3 separate regions of the Homo sapiens genome follow, and regions 1 and 3 are each linked to region 2. The links are contacts of gene promoters, found by promoter capture Hi-C in human tissues and cell types (Jung and others, 2019). All regions are on one chromosome and are shown on one strand. The core of a region is centred on a gene start or on the middle of the fragment in contact, and the rest is flanking DNA. Distances in the headings are between cores, read along the strand shown.

Region 1 (4,075 bases), core at 343-2,842, 230 kb after region 2:
TCAAGCACAGGCCCTGGGGAAAGGGAGATACAAGGTACAGGGCGGCAGGGGGCTGGTGGGCTGCTGGTGCCACTGGTACTGCCTGTGTCCCCCTCCTTGGCTCCTTCCGGGATTTTGCAGATGGGTCGGTGGGCTTCCAGCACCAGCTCTAGGCGCTCCTTCTGCTTCTGCAGCTCCTCAATCTCTCGCTGCAGCCCAGATTTCTCATCTTCCAGTTTGTCAGTCTCCTGTAGAAGATCAGGAGAGGAGTCAGAAAGGTGAGGGCTGAATACCCCAGAGCCGCAGACGTTTGGACTCAGGGTTCTGAGGAGCTGGGGTTGGGCGGGGGGAGAGGGGGGGCAGTGGAGAGTCCCCAGCAAGTCTGGACTACAACTCCCATAAGCCCCTGGGAGAAAATGGGCACAACTCCCATCAGGCCCAGACGTTTTAGGAGATTGCTGGCACCAGGCAGTGACTCCGGCCTGTAATCCCAGCACTTTGGGAGGCTGAGGCGGGCGGATCACTTGAGACCAGGAGTTTGAGACCAGCCTGGCTAACTTGGCGAAACCCCGTCTCTACTAAAAATACAAAAATTAGTCGGGTAGGGAGGCAGGCGCCTGTAGCCCCAGGTACTCAGCAGGCTGAGGCATAAGAATTGCTGGAGCCTGGGAGACAGATGTCACAGTGAGCCATGAGCCGAGATCTCATCACTGCACTCCAGCCTGGGTGACAGAGCGAGACTCTGTCTCAAAAAAAAAAGGAGATTGCTGGCTGAGCTTCAGCTCTGCTGTGAGTGAGACATGCTGCAGCCAGTTTCTAATCAATTTTTCCTCATCATTTTCCCAGAAGGACTGCCCCTCAGACAAGGAGCTAGGATGGTGAGGAGGGGGCTACATATACTGGGGCTCTGGGGGCTCTGGGAGACAGGGTCCCTCTGAGCTCGGTGGACCAGGGCTGGTGCTCACCGCCTGCAGGAAGTCGGTCAGTTCCTTCCTCCGGTTCCTGCACTTGGCCGCAGCCAGCTTGTTCCGCTCGCGCCTTACTCGGCGGCGCTCCTCTTCCTCCGGGCTGATCTGGGGGTGAGACCCGCAGTGAGGAGGACCCTGGGCTACTGGCTGCCTGGAACTCGCCCCTCATGGTGGCCCAGTGGTAGGACCCTGGCAGAGGTCATGGCAGGGCCCCCTCAGCCGGTGATTTAGGGATCACTGCACCCAACCAGTTCCCTGCACTGAGGCGCTGTCTGCTTTGATTGGTAAAATTTCCTCCTCGCACCTAGCTTTAGTGCACATTCCTCTCCCATAATGCCCTCCCCCTCCGCAAACCCTAACCCTCCTCATCTCCCAGGACTCAACTAAGATGCTCCTGCCTCCAGGAAGCCGTCTTATTCCCCAGCCAGAAGTGACCTTTCCTTCTCAGCACCCTCTTTGCAGGACCCTCATCCTTCTGGATCTGTGGACAACCAAGTCTCCTCTTCCATGAGCTGTAAGCACTAGGAGGGGCTAATGAGTGCTGCTGATTAAGTTGCAATTTATTGGAAAACTACTATGTGCCAGCCAAGTACTTTACGTAGATTCTTGTTTTTCACTGAGAACATGCAAAGATTTTATTTTATTTTATTTTATTTTTTTTAGACAGAGTCTCACTCTTTCCCAGGCTGGAGTGCATTGGCCCAATCTTGGCTCACTGCAACCTCCACCTACTGGGTTCAAGTGATTCTCGTGCCTCAGCCTCCCAAGTAGCTGGGATTACAGGCATGTACCACCACACCTGGCTAATTTTTGTATTTTTAGTAGAGACGAGGTTTCACCATGTTGGCCAGGCTGGTCTTGAACTCTTAACCTCAGGTGATCCACCCTCCTCAGCCTCCCAAAGTGCTGGGATTACAGGCATGAGCCACTGTGCTCGGCCTTTTTTTTTCTTTTTTTTTTTTGTGTAGTGACGGGGTCTCACTGTGTTGCCCAGGCTGGTCTGGAACTCATGGGCTCAAGGGATCCTCCTGCACTGGCCTCCTAGAATGTTTGGATTACCAGGGGGAGTCACCACAGCTGGCCTCTTTTTTAAAAAAACATAGATTCTTTTTTTTTTTTTTTTTTGAGACGGAGTCTCACTCTGTTGCCCAGGCTGGAGTGCAGTGGTGCCATCTCGGCTCACTGCAAGCTCCGCCTCCGGGGTTCACGCCATTCTCCTGCCTCAGCCTCCCGAGTAGCTGCGACTACAGGTGCCTTCCACCACGCCCAGCTAATTTTTTGTATTTTTTAGTAGAGACACGGTTTCATCATGTTAGCCAGGATGGTCTCGATCTCCTGACCTCATGATCCACCTTCCTTGGCCTCCCAAAGTGCTGGGATTACAGGCGTGAGCCACCATGCCTGGCCTTAAACTAGATTCTTAACGCAACTTTCCATGAAAAACTGAAGCCCAGAGAGGATAACTTACTTATGGTTCCAGAGCAGGACTTAGAACCCATAGAACTCACTCACTCTATTCCACATTGAGTGACAGGCCAGATGAGAGAGACCATTTCACCAAAAGGATCCAACTCACAGCTCACAGCCCTACCTGGAGAACCCAGGATCAAAGGGTCACCCTCAGGACCAGGCTGAAGGAAGGACGCACAGGAGGGTTTACCCCTGGCCCGCTTCTGCGGCTCATACCACAGTCCCTCCTCACCACAAAGGCCAGACATTCTGTTCTGGGAAACCTGTCTCTGGCTGATCTCTCACCTTTCCCAGGGCCCTAACCTCTCTCCCCATCCTCTACCTGCCGACCAAGCTTTTTAACCTCATCCCCTGTAGTCTCCCACACCAAAATGCCCCAGGGAGAGGAAAGATGAGCCACTCCTTTAAAGACTCGCCATCTCTTACTCACTTATTTTGGTAAGGGCTTTGGGGAGCCAAGAATTGTCAGTTCCCTCTACTTTGAGCCTTCTGTTAGCTTCCAGTGAGACAGCGTGGCTTGGTGATTAGTTTTGGGGGTTTTATTTTATTTTGTTTTTTCGGTAGAGACAGGGTCTCTCTATGTTGCCCAACCTAGTCTTGAACTCCTGGCCTCAAGTGATCCTCCTGCCTAGGTCTCTCAAAGTGCTGGGATTACAGGCATGAGCTACTGCACCTGGCCCTGGTTTGGTGGTTAGGATCTGACTTTAGAGTTGTATAGACCTGGGGCCAAGGCCAGTCCTGTGTCATTACTCACTACTTGTGTGATCTTGGGCAAGTGACTACCCTTCTGTGCCTTCATTTCTTTGGTGGAAGATGGGGAAAACCAGAGTACATTCCCCAGAGAGATTTTGTGAGGATTAAATGAGACAGGGAAACTGAGACTGAGGGAGTAGCTGAAGGGAACCCTCTTGTTCCTGTTCTCTCCCAGACAACATAAGCGCCCCCTCTATGCATGTCAGCAGGTGGAGACCCCCTCACCATTCCGTGTGCGCACCTTACATGTTCTTGCCTCCGCCTCCATCCTTGCTCCTGCCACCCCCGCTACCTGGAATGTCCTTTCCTTCCTCTCTGCCTCTGCCAGTCCTACCCATCCTTCTAGGCTAATATGCCACCTTTTCCAGGAAGCTTTCCCTGATCTGGAAGTGACTGTTGTACCCTCTGGGCCTCCCGTGGGGCTCCTATCACTTTCAGCCTTGGGCAGTAGTCACCTGTAGCCTACCTTACCCCCTCCTAAGCCTGTGCTCTCCTTTCTGGCAGGAGCTTCTCTGCACCCTAGCACTCCTGGGCGGGGTCGGAACCACTGCAATGCCTCTGTGCCTTACCTGTTCACAAGGCCTTCGACGTACCCCTGGAGGCGGCCCCAGGGCCCGGATGACTCCTGGCCGGGGTTGTGGGGGGCTGTACTGAGGGTAGGTCAGAGGCCTGGGGTAACTGCTGGGCCCCAGGAAATGAGGCTGTACCATCCACTGCAGCTCCTGACTGCCACTCATGGTGTTGATGCTTGGCACCAGGTGGAACTTCTAAGGAATAAGAAATGGAAGGCCACAGATGAGGTCCGTGTGGATTGAGGGGCTTCCACTGGGCAGAGGCTACACTGCTGTCTACCTTCAATGTACAGGCTAGCTCTGGGAACAGAAAGAGCACAGCTTGGCAGTCAG
Region 2 (3,475 bases), core at 976-3,475:
TGTTACTCTGACAGCACCTTGTTTATTTATCTGTGTATTTATTTATTTTTAAGAGACACAGTGTCGGGCCGGGTGCGGTGGCTCAAGCCTGTAATCCCAGCACTTTGGGAGGCCAAGACAGGCAGATCACAAGGTCAGGAGATTGAGACCATCCTGGCTAACACGGTGAAACCCTGTCTCTACTAAAAAATACAAAAAATTAGCCAGGCGTGGTGGCAGGCACCTGTAGTCCCAGCTATTCGGGAAGCTGAGGCAGGAGAATGGCATGAACCCGGAAGGTGGAGGTTGCAGTGAGCTGAGATCGCGCCACTGCACTCCAGTCTGGGGACAGAGCAAGACTCTTTCTTAAAAAAAAAAAAAAAAAAAAAAAGACAAGGTATCGCCCTGCCACCCAAGTGCAGTGGTGCAATCATAGCTTGCCGCAGCAGTGACCTCCTGGGCTCAGGCGATCCTCCCACCTCAGCCTCCCTGGGACTATAGGCGCATGCCACCATACCCAGCTAATTTCTTATTTTTTGTAGACATGGGGTCTCACTATGTTGCCTTGGCTAGTCTTGAATTCCTAGGCTCAAGAGATCTTCCTGCCTTGGCCTCCCGAAGTGCTAGGATTATAAGCATGAGCCACTATGCCCGGCCTGTATATTTTTTTACAGCCTGTCTCTGTCAACTGCAATGTCAACTCCAGGGGAGAGTGCTGGTTCAATGGTTTTCTTCCTCAAACAAGAGACGTGACTCTGAGGGACTTGTCCTTCCAGCTACAGGGGTCAGGAATTCAGAAGTGATTAGGGACCCATCCGTATCCCCTGGAACTCATCTGCTAGAGTAAACGTACAAATAGATAATTTCAAGACAAAGGCAGTTTACTTGCAGAGCTGAGTCAGGGCAAGGAGTGAGGAATTCTGCCCTGGGTCCAGAAAGGAGTAACACTGTAGCGGCTACTTCATAGCCCGCCTCCTGTCCCCTCATGCTGGGCCTCCTAGCCTGCAGGGACCTCACCTGTGGATGCAGCGGTCCGGGCAGAGCTCAGCCTCATAGAAGCCATCCCGGCAGTCCTTTCCTACAAGCTCGTGGGGGTGAGGCCGGTGAGGAGGGTCCTTGGTGACCAGGGAGATGCGCACTGTCCCTGGTCCTGTGTAGCCATTGATCTGTCCAAAGTACAGAGGCCCAGACATCCAAACCTGACTCCCAAACACAGAGGGCTGGGGTTCCACAGTCCCTTCCCCGCACACCCTGGCGCAGTGCTGACCTTGATGGTGGGGTGGGTCTTGGTGGTATCTGTGCTCCTCTCGCCTGGGATGCTGCCCGCGGAGCGCCCCTCGCACTTGTAGCGGAAGCGCATGCCCCGCTGCTTGGGCTGCTCAATGATCTCCACATAGGGGCCAGAGGCCTGGGCTGGCTCTGCCAGGGGACACCGCAGCCCCATTAGGCGGCTGCCCCCACTGCCCTACCCCAGGGAGCACCTCCCCGACCGCCGCGGGGGCCACTTACCTGCCGGGAAGATGAGGGGGAACAGTTCTGAAAGGGGAGGGAGATCAGGGTCAGCACACACCCAATGCCCATTCTCACAAGGAGGAATCTGCTCTCCACGGAGAGGAGAAGCCAGGCTCCCTCCCAGGGGAACTGAGTCAGGACCTGCTCCCTAGAACCTGCGGTGAAACTAAGGGGTGGAGGAAAGGAACCAGAAACACCTGCTTCTTGAGGGAAAACGGGGTAAGGAATCCTTCTTCTCCAGAGGGAAGCTGAATCAGGGCCTGTTGTACTTTCTTAAGGAAAATTGAGGGAGGGCACGCCCCACCTCCCTCCAGAGAGGAAACTGAATCAGATGCGTTCTCCCCTAATAGGGAAACGAAGCCAGAGCTGCCCCCATGGACGGTGTGGAGGGAAACTGAGTCAAGGTTCCCTCTGCTCCCCCACCCAGGGAGGATGCTGAGTCAAGGGCCACCCCCTCCACCCAGAGGGGAAACTGAGTCAGACCCCTCCCCGCCTGCCCCGCCCCGCGCCACCATCCGGCAGGCCGACCGCTCCCTGCGCAGCGCCCGTCGGCGCAGGAAGGGGCGGAAAGCGGCGCGGGGGCTCCCGCCACAGCCGCGGCGGCCCCGGCGATGCCACCCCGCGGGGTCAGAGGGCGACCTCACCGTCCATGGCCGGGGTCCCGGGGGCGGGGCCGGGGTCGCAGCTGGGCCCGCGGCGTGCACTACAGACGAGCCATTCGCCAGAGGCGGAAATGCGCCGCGCGGCCCGCCGTCGCGTCACTGCCCGGAATCCGGCCGCGCCTGCGCGCTGCCCCGCCGCCGCCCGGCGCAGGGGCCGGGAGCAAGTGCACGCCGCGCGGAGGACGAAGAGGCTGCACGCACAGCCGCTGCCGGGGGTCGGGGCCAAGTGCGCGCCTCGCCGAGGACGAAGAGGCTGGCGTGCCCGGTGGCTCGGCTAGCTCCCGGGTCCCGGCCCCGCCTGGAGGGTGGGTCCGCCGATTACTCACTTTGTTTTTAGGGGATTTCAGGGCCCCCTCCCGCCGATCGGCGGAGTTTGGTGATGTCACTCTGGGCCGGGTCTGGAGCAAAGCCAGGGCTACTGGGCTGCGGCCGCCCGCCCCGCGCAGGGAAAAGCCCGACCGGGCCTTCTGCTCCGCAGAGGCCGGGTGGTTGAACTCCGCGCGGGTTTCCTAACCGCTAAAGGTGCCTTTCGGTGGTGGCTGTCTCAGAAGCACGTTAAAATGTCCTACCCACCCCAATCTAGATGCGGCTGTGGGGGAATGGGAGCGGCCGGACCTCCCAGCCTGACAGTGCATCAAGAGCTTTGCGGAGCCTACAGCCCGGATGGGACGACTGAGGCCCTCCCGCTGGCGAGCTGGCCGAGGGCTCGTCCCTCTCCAGCTAAAGCGCCAGCTTACGATACAGCCAAACTGCCGGCTCTCATCGGCTGTGGGAGCAGGAGGCCCCCAGGGGTAAATCCCGGAGCCTCGTCTCTGAAGCCTGGCGCTTGTGTCTCAGAAGGTGCGGGACCCACAGGGACACTTGAATCAGCAGGCTCACGACCCCCCACCCCCCTGCCCCCGCCTGTGTTTGCCCTGGACCTCCAGCTAGGGCTGACCACTAATTCTGTCATGTGACCCCACAGTGCAGGTAGCTCCCCCAAGACCAAGCCCAAGGCGCGTCCGTGTGGAGGCTGGGGCTGACGCACCCCCACCCCAGGCCTCATCCCCAAAGGAGGATGCTCCACTGCAGGGGGCGGAGTCTTCTCCAGATGGAGAAAGACTTTTTTATTTTCTCTGAATTCGTCTTAAATTAGGAAATCATGTGGGAATTGGAAAAGATTGGAAATTCTGACTTGTTTCCCAGGCTCTGAAGAAACAGGAAGAGAAAAGTGAAAATAGAGTTAGCACCCCGCCCACTCATTTCAGTTTCTCCAGTGGCTGGCCCTGATTAGAAAAGTGTTTACTTTTGGCAGGGGGCGGGGGAGGCCGACTTCAGGTGAC
Region 3 (4,101 bases), core at 1,523-4,022, 170 kb after region 2:
CAACATAGTGAGACCCCCATCTCTGTTTTATATATATATATATATATATATATATATATATATATATATATATATATATATATATATACACACACACACACACACACACACACACACACACACACACACACACACGATATATATATATTTAAAATATATATATGTTATATACATATATAAATGTATACATATACATATAATTATACATACATATATGTATATATACTTAAATATACATATATATATATATATATATATATATATATATAAAAATCACTCAGGAGCCCTGGAATGTGTGTGTTTTGGTTAATTTTAGTAGAAAAGGGTATTACCTATGCAAAGCTCTAGCTACCTAGATAACTGAAAATATCTGCACTTATGAGGTAGTTGGCATTTGTCACGGTATCTTGGTCTTCATTTTTCTTTCTGTGGCCCTGGTGAAATGCGTCTGATATCTCAGGAGAAAATGCAATCCAAAGAACGATTGTGGTTGTCTGGTTCATCAGTTGTATACTGTGCGGTGCAATCTGAGAGATTTTCACAAAGCCGAAAACTGCCCAAGTATGACCTCGTGCCTGTGTAGGCCTCTTATAAAAGAGACAATTCCCCAACTCTCAGAGAGTTTCCAGAGGAGGCTAGGAGTGATGATCTCGGGATGGCAGAGATCTAGGAAAGAAAATAAACGTCATTGTTTTTTGACATTTATATATATATACACACACAATTATTATTATTATTTTTGGAGACAGAGTCTCACTCTGTCACTAAGGTTGGAGTGCAGTGGCGCGATCTCAGCTCACTGCAACCTCCACCTCCAGGATTCAAGTGATTCTTGTGCCTCAGCCTCCCAAGTAGCTGGGATTACAGGCGTGAGCCACCACATCTGGCTAATTTTTGTATTTTTAGTAGAGACGGGGTTTCACCATGTTGGCCAGGCTGGTCTTAAACTCTTGACCTCAGGTGATCCGCCCGCCTCGGCCTCCCAAAGTGCTGAGAGTACAGGTGTGAGCTACCGCACCCCACCAACATTTATATTCTTAAATACTTGCCACTGAAGCGCTCATCCAGTAAGTATGCGCCGAATGAATGGAGGGGTTGCTGCACAGCCTCATTCCCTACCCCCATTCAGGATCCCAGGCCTTGCTTTGGCAGGTGAGGAAGCCAAGGTTCAGGGCTTGTCTGGTAGGAATAGAGGAGGCCATTCAGCAGACAGAGCGGTTTCCAGCTCAGCTCTGGAGTCAGGCTGCCTGGACTCTGTGCCTGGCTCTGGCAGTGTCTACTGGGTAGAGTCGATAGAGTAATAGTTCCTATCTCAAAGAGCTATTGGACTAAATTATAGAGAACATGTAAAGTGCTTAGCATGGTGCTGATTAAATTACCCTGATTATTACAAGAATTCAGTAAATGTTAGCTATTATAATCATTTGTCAAGAAGATCCTACCATGAGGCTTGAGCCATCTATAGCTTATCTTTACAACTCTGCCCACTCCCTATTAATATCTCCACTTTATTGTCTAACAATGGGATCAGAGTTCCTAGAAAATGAAAGAGCAAGCTATCAGCTTCTGCCCAATAAAGAAGGAGAAATAGCGGAGCTGGGGAGAAGCAAACAGATCTCATACACAGAACGCCTGGTTGTGCAACTGGCTCAGCTTAGAAATAGATCTGGACTCTCAATGGCCATGCAGAAAGGAAGAAAACAAAGGCGCACATCTTCAGGCTGCTGAGGGAAACTCTATATCCAGAAAAACCTCAAGTACAAGTATGGAACAAAGACAGTTTCAGGCTTTTGAGGTTTCAAAAAATGTGACATTCTAAGAAACAGGGTAAATTATTATAGCAATTTCTCAATAGATATTAAATAGTACTGAGACTGATGAAGTCACTGAATATGATGGGTTGATTTATTCTGCAGACACATGCTGAGTGCTACTATGGGCTGGTTACACACTGGACTAGAGAGGGTAACCAGACTGACACATATTGCTGCCCTCATAGAGCTCATTTACATCCTAGTGAGGACAGATAGATGTAAACAGCTACAGTAGGAAAGTTCTGAGTCAGAAGGTGATGAACGTGATGGAGAAAGAGAAGCCAGGGCCTCTAGCCTCAACTTCCAGGAACTGGAACTACAGAACTACAGGAACTATAGCAGACAGATGAACGAACTACGGCTGGGCGTGGTGGCTCATGCCTGTAATCCCAGCACTTTGGGAGGCTGAGGCGGGCACATCACAAGGTCAGGAGTTCGAGACCAGCCTGGCCAACATGGAGAAACCTCGTCTCTACTAATAAATATAAAAATTAGCCGGGGATGGTGGCGGGCGCCTGTAGTCCCAGCTACTGGGGAGGCTGAGGCAGGAGAATGGCATGAACCCAGAAGGTGGAGCTTGCAGTGAGCCGAGATCGCGCCACTGCACTCCAGCCTGGGCAACAGTGTGAGACTCTGTCTCAAAAAAAATAATAATAATTACCAGCAACTGATGGCTTAAAACAATAGAGGTTTATTCTCTCACAGCTCTAGAGGTCAGATGCTAAAACCAAGGTGTTGGCGGAGGCCACACTCTCTACAGAGACTCTGGGGAAGAATCCATTCTGTGCCTCTTCCAACTTCAGGCGACCATCGGCACTCCTTGACTCGTAGCTGCATAACTCCAGCCTGTGCCTGGGAGATCACACTGCCTCCTCCTCTCTGTGTGTCTGTTCTCCTTCTCTTCCTCTCTCTTACAAGGACACTTGTAATGGCATTTACGACCCACCTCTAAAGTGGGCCCTTCTCTCAAGATCTTTAACTTAATTACATCTTTTGCCATATTAAGGTAATATTCACAGGTTCCTGGGATTAGGAAGTGAATATATCTTTGGCGGACCACTTTTGTGCCTACCTTAAGGAGCAAGAAAAATGGGACAGTACTAGAGGGAAATGTAGGGTACAGAGAAGTTTTTTGTTTTTGTTTTTTAAGATGGGAAAAGTTGGCGGGGTGCAGTGGCTCATGTCGGTAATCTCAGCACTTTCGGGTAGAGGCAGGAGGATCGCTTGAGCCCAGAAGTTCAAGACCTGCCTGGGCAACATAGAGAGACCTCATCTCTACTTAAAAAAAAAAAAAAACTAGTCTCTTGTGGTGGTGTACACCTGTAGTCCCAGCTACTTGGGAGGCTGAGGAGATTGCTTCAGCCTAGAAGGTTGAGGCTGCAGTGAGCCATGATCATGCCACTGCACTCCAGCCTGAGTGACAGAGTGAGACCCTATTTCAAAAACAACAACAATGACAAAAAAAAAAAAAGTTTGGAGATGGAGTGGTAACCAACTTGGCAGAGTGGAGGCAGCTGGCACTTAAGTGCTTAAAGATAATAGAAACGAAAAGTTAACAGTTCACTCTACTTATCCCCAAAAAAGTTCAGGACATGGAGGGACCAGATAGCTCAGATGGAAGGAAAAAGGCATAGAGCTGAGAACAGAGAAATTATTTAGGAGTCTGTATATAAAGCAGTTAAGCTTACAAATCCCCTCCCCAACCTTTTTTAGCTGGGCACCAACTCCCATAGCACAGCAGAGGGTTTACTCTTTGGGGAAACTGAATCTGAGAAGCACCAACTCAGGGACACCAGGCACAGCTGAAGGTGGAGTGAGCACTGAGCTGAAAACAAGGGACTGGGTAAAAACATATGTACCAAGCGGTGGCTCCACAACCGTCTCCCCTGACCCTGCTGCTGTAACCTCTATAGCAGGGGCCATGCAGATATCCCCCAGACAGATTGGAGAATTCTCTGTAGAAACCAGACGGTCCCTTCAGTGAGATTTACAGATTCTGATATTTGGGTGTACCCAGTAAAATATCCTGCTTGCTTCAGTCGCCACAGAGTGAAGCCCATAGATCAACAAGCCCCAAATTGTGCTTCCAATTGCCTCTGCTTAATGCCTCATTCTTAAATATGGACAGCCGAAGATCAAACATTTGAGGAAAACTTCCAACAATACACACACAAAAAAAATGGAGCGGGGGGAAGCAGGGGAGGGGAACTCAGGGGAAACAATAAGAAAAGCAGAAGAAAACTTAAAAACTGGAAAAATCCTTGGAGAGCTAAGAGAACAGACTCAT

The links. The method cuts DNA at HindIII sites, captures the fragments that hold promoters and counts their contacts. A contact is called where the count stands out against the background at its distance.
Region 1: a fragment that was not itself captured here is called in contact with the fragment with the promoter of RELA in region 2 in 1 of the 25 tissues and cell types used here (dorsolateral prefrontal cortex).
Region 3: a contact is called between a fragment that was not itself captured here and the fragment with the promoter of RELA in region 2, in 1 of the 25 tissues and cell types used here (dorsolateral prefrontal cortex).

Annotation. Positions count from the first base shown.
Region 1 is chr11:65,893,070-65,897,144 of GRCh38, forward strand. It overlaps FOSL1 (FOS like 1, AP-1 transcription factor subunit), which reads right to left. Exons shown (of 4, transcript NM_005438.5): 2 at 3,740-3,937; 3 at 945-1,052; 4 at 1-227. Among named protein-coding and RNA genes, the nearest start is that of CCDC85B, 4.4 kb to the left of the region's middle. RefSeq lists enhancers at 549-1,053, 1,156-1,265. The HindIII fragment of the contact is 3,107 bases long and covers 40-3,146 here.
Region 2 is chr11:65,660,691-65,664,165 of GRCh38, forward strand. It overlaps RELA (RELA proto-oncogene, NF-kB subunit), which reads right to left and starts at 2,226. Exons shown (of 11, transcript NM_021975.4): 1 at 2,136-2,226; 2 at 1,489-1,515; 3 at 1,247-1,398; 4 at 997-1,145. The coding sequence starts at 2,142. RELA-DT (RELA divergent transcript) reads left to right here and starts at 2,316. Exons shown (of 4, transcript NR_183625.1): 1 at 2,316-2,458. RefSeq lists silencers at 1,913-1,972, 2,033-2,442 and an enhancer at 2,533-2,732. The HindIII fragment of the contact is 29,460 bases long and covers 1-3,475 here.
Region 3 is chr11:65,825,944-65,830,044 of GRCh38, forward strand. LOC124902693 reads right to left here. Exons shown (of 7, transcript XM_047427980.1): 2 at 333-666. Among named protein-coding and RNA genes, the nearest start is that of SNX32, 6.0 kb to the right of the region's middle. RefSeq lists a silencer at 1,915-2,209. The HindIII fragment of the contact is 5,096 bases long and covers 225-4,101 here.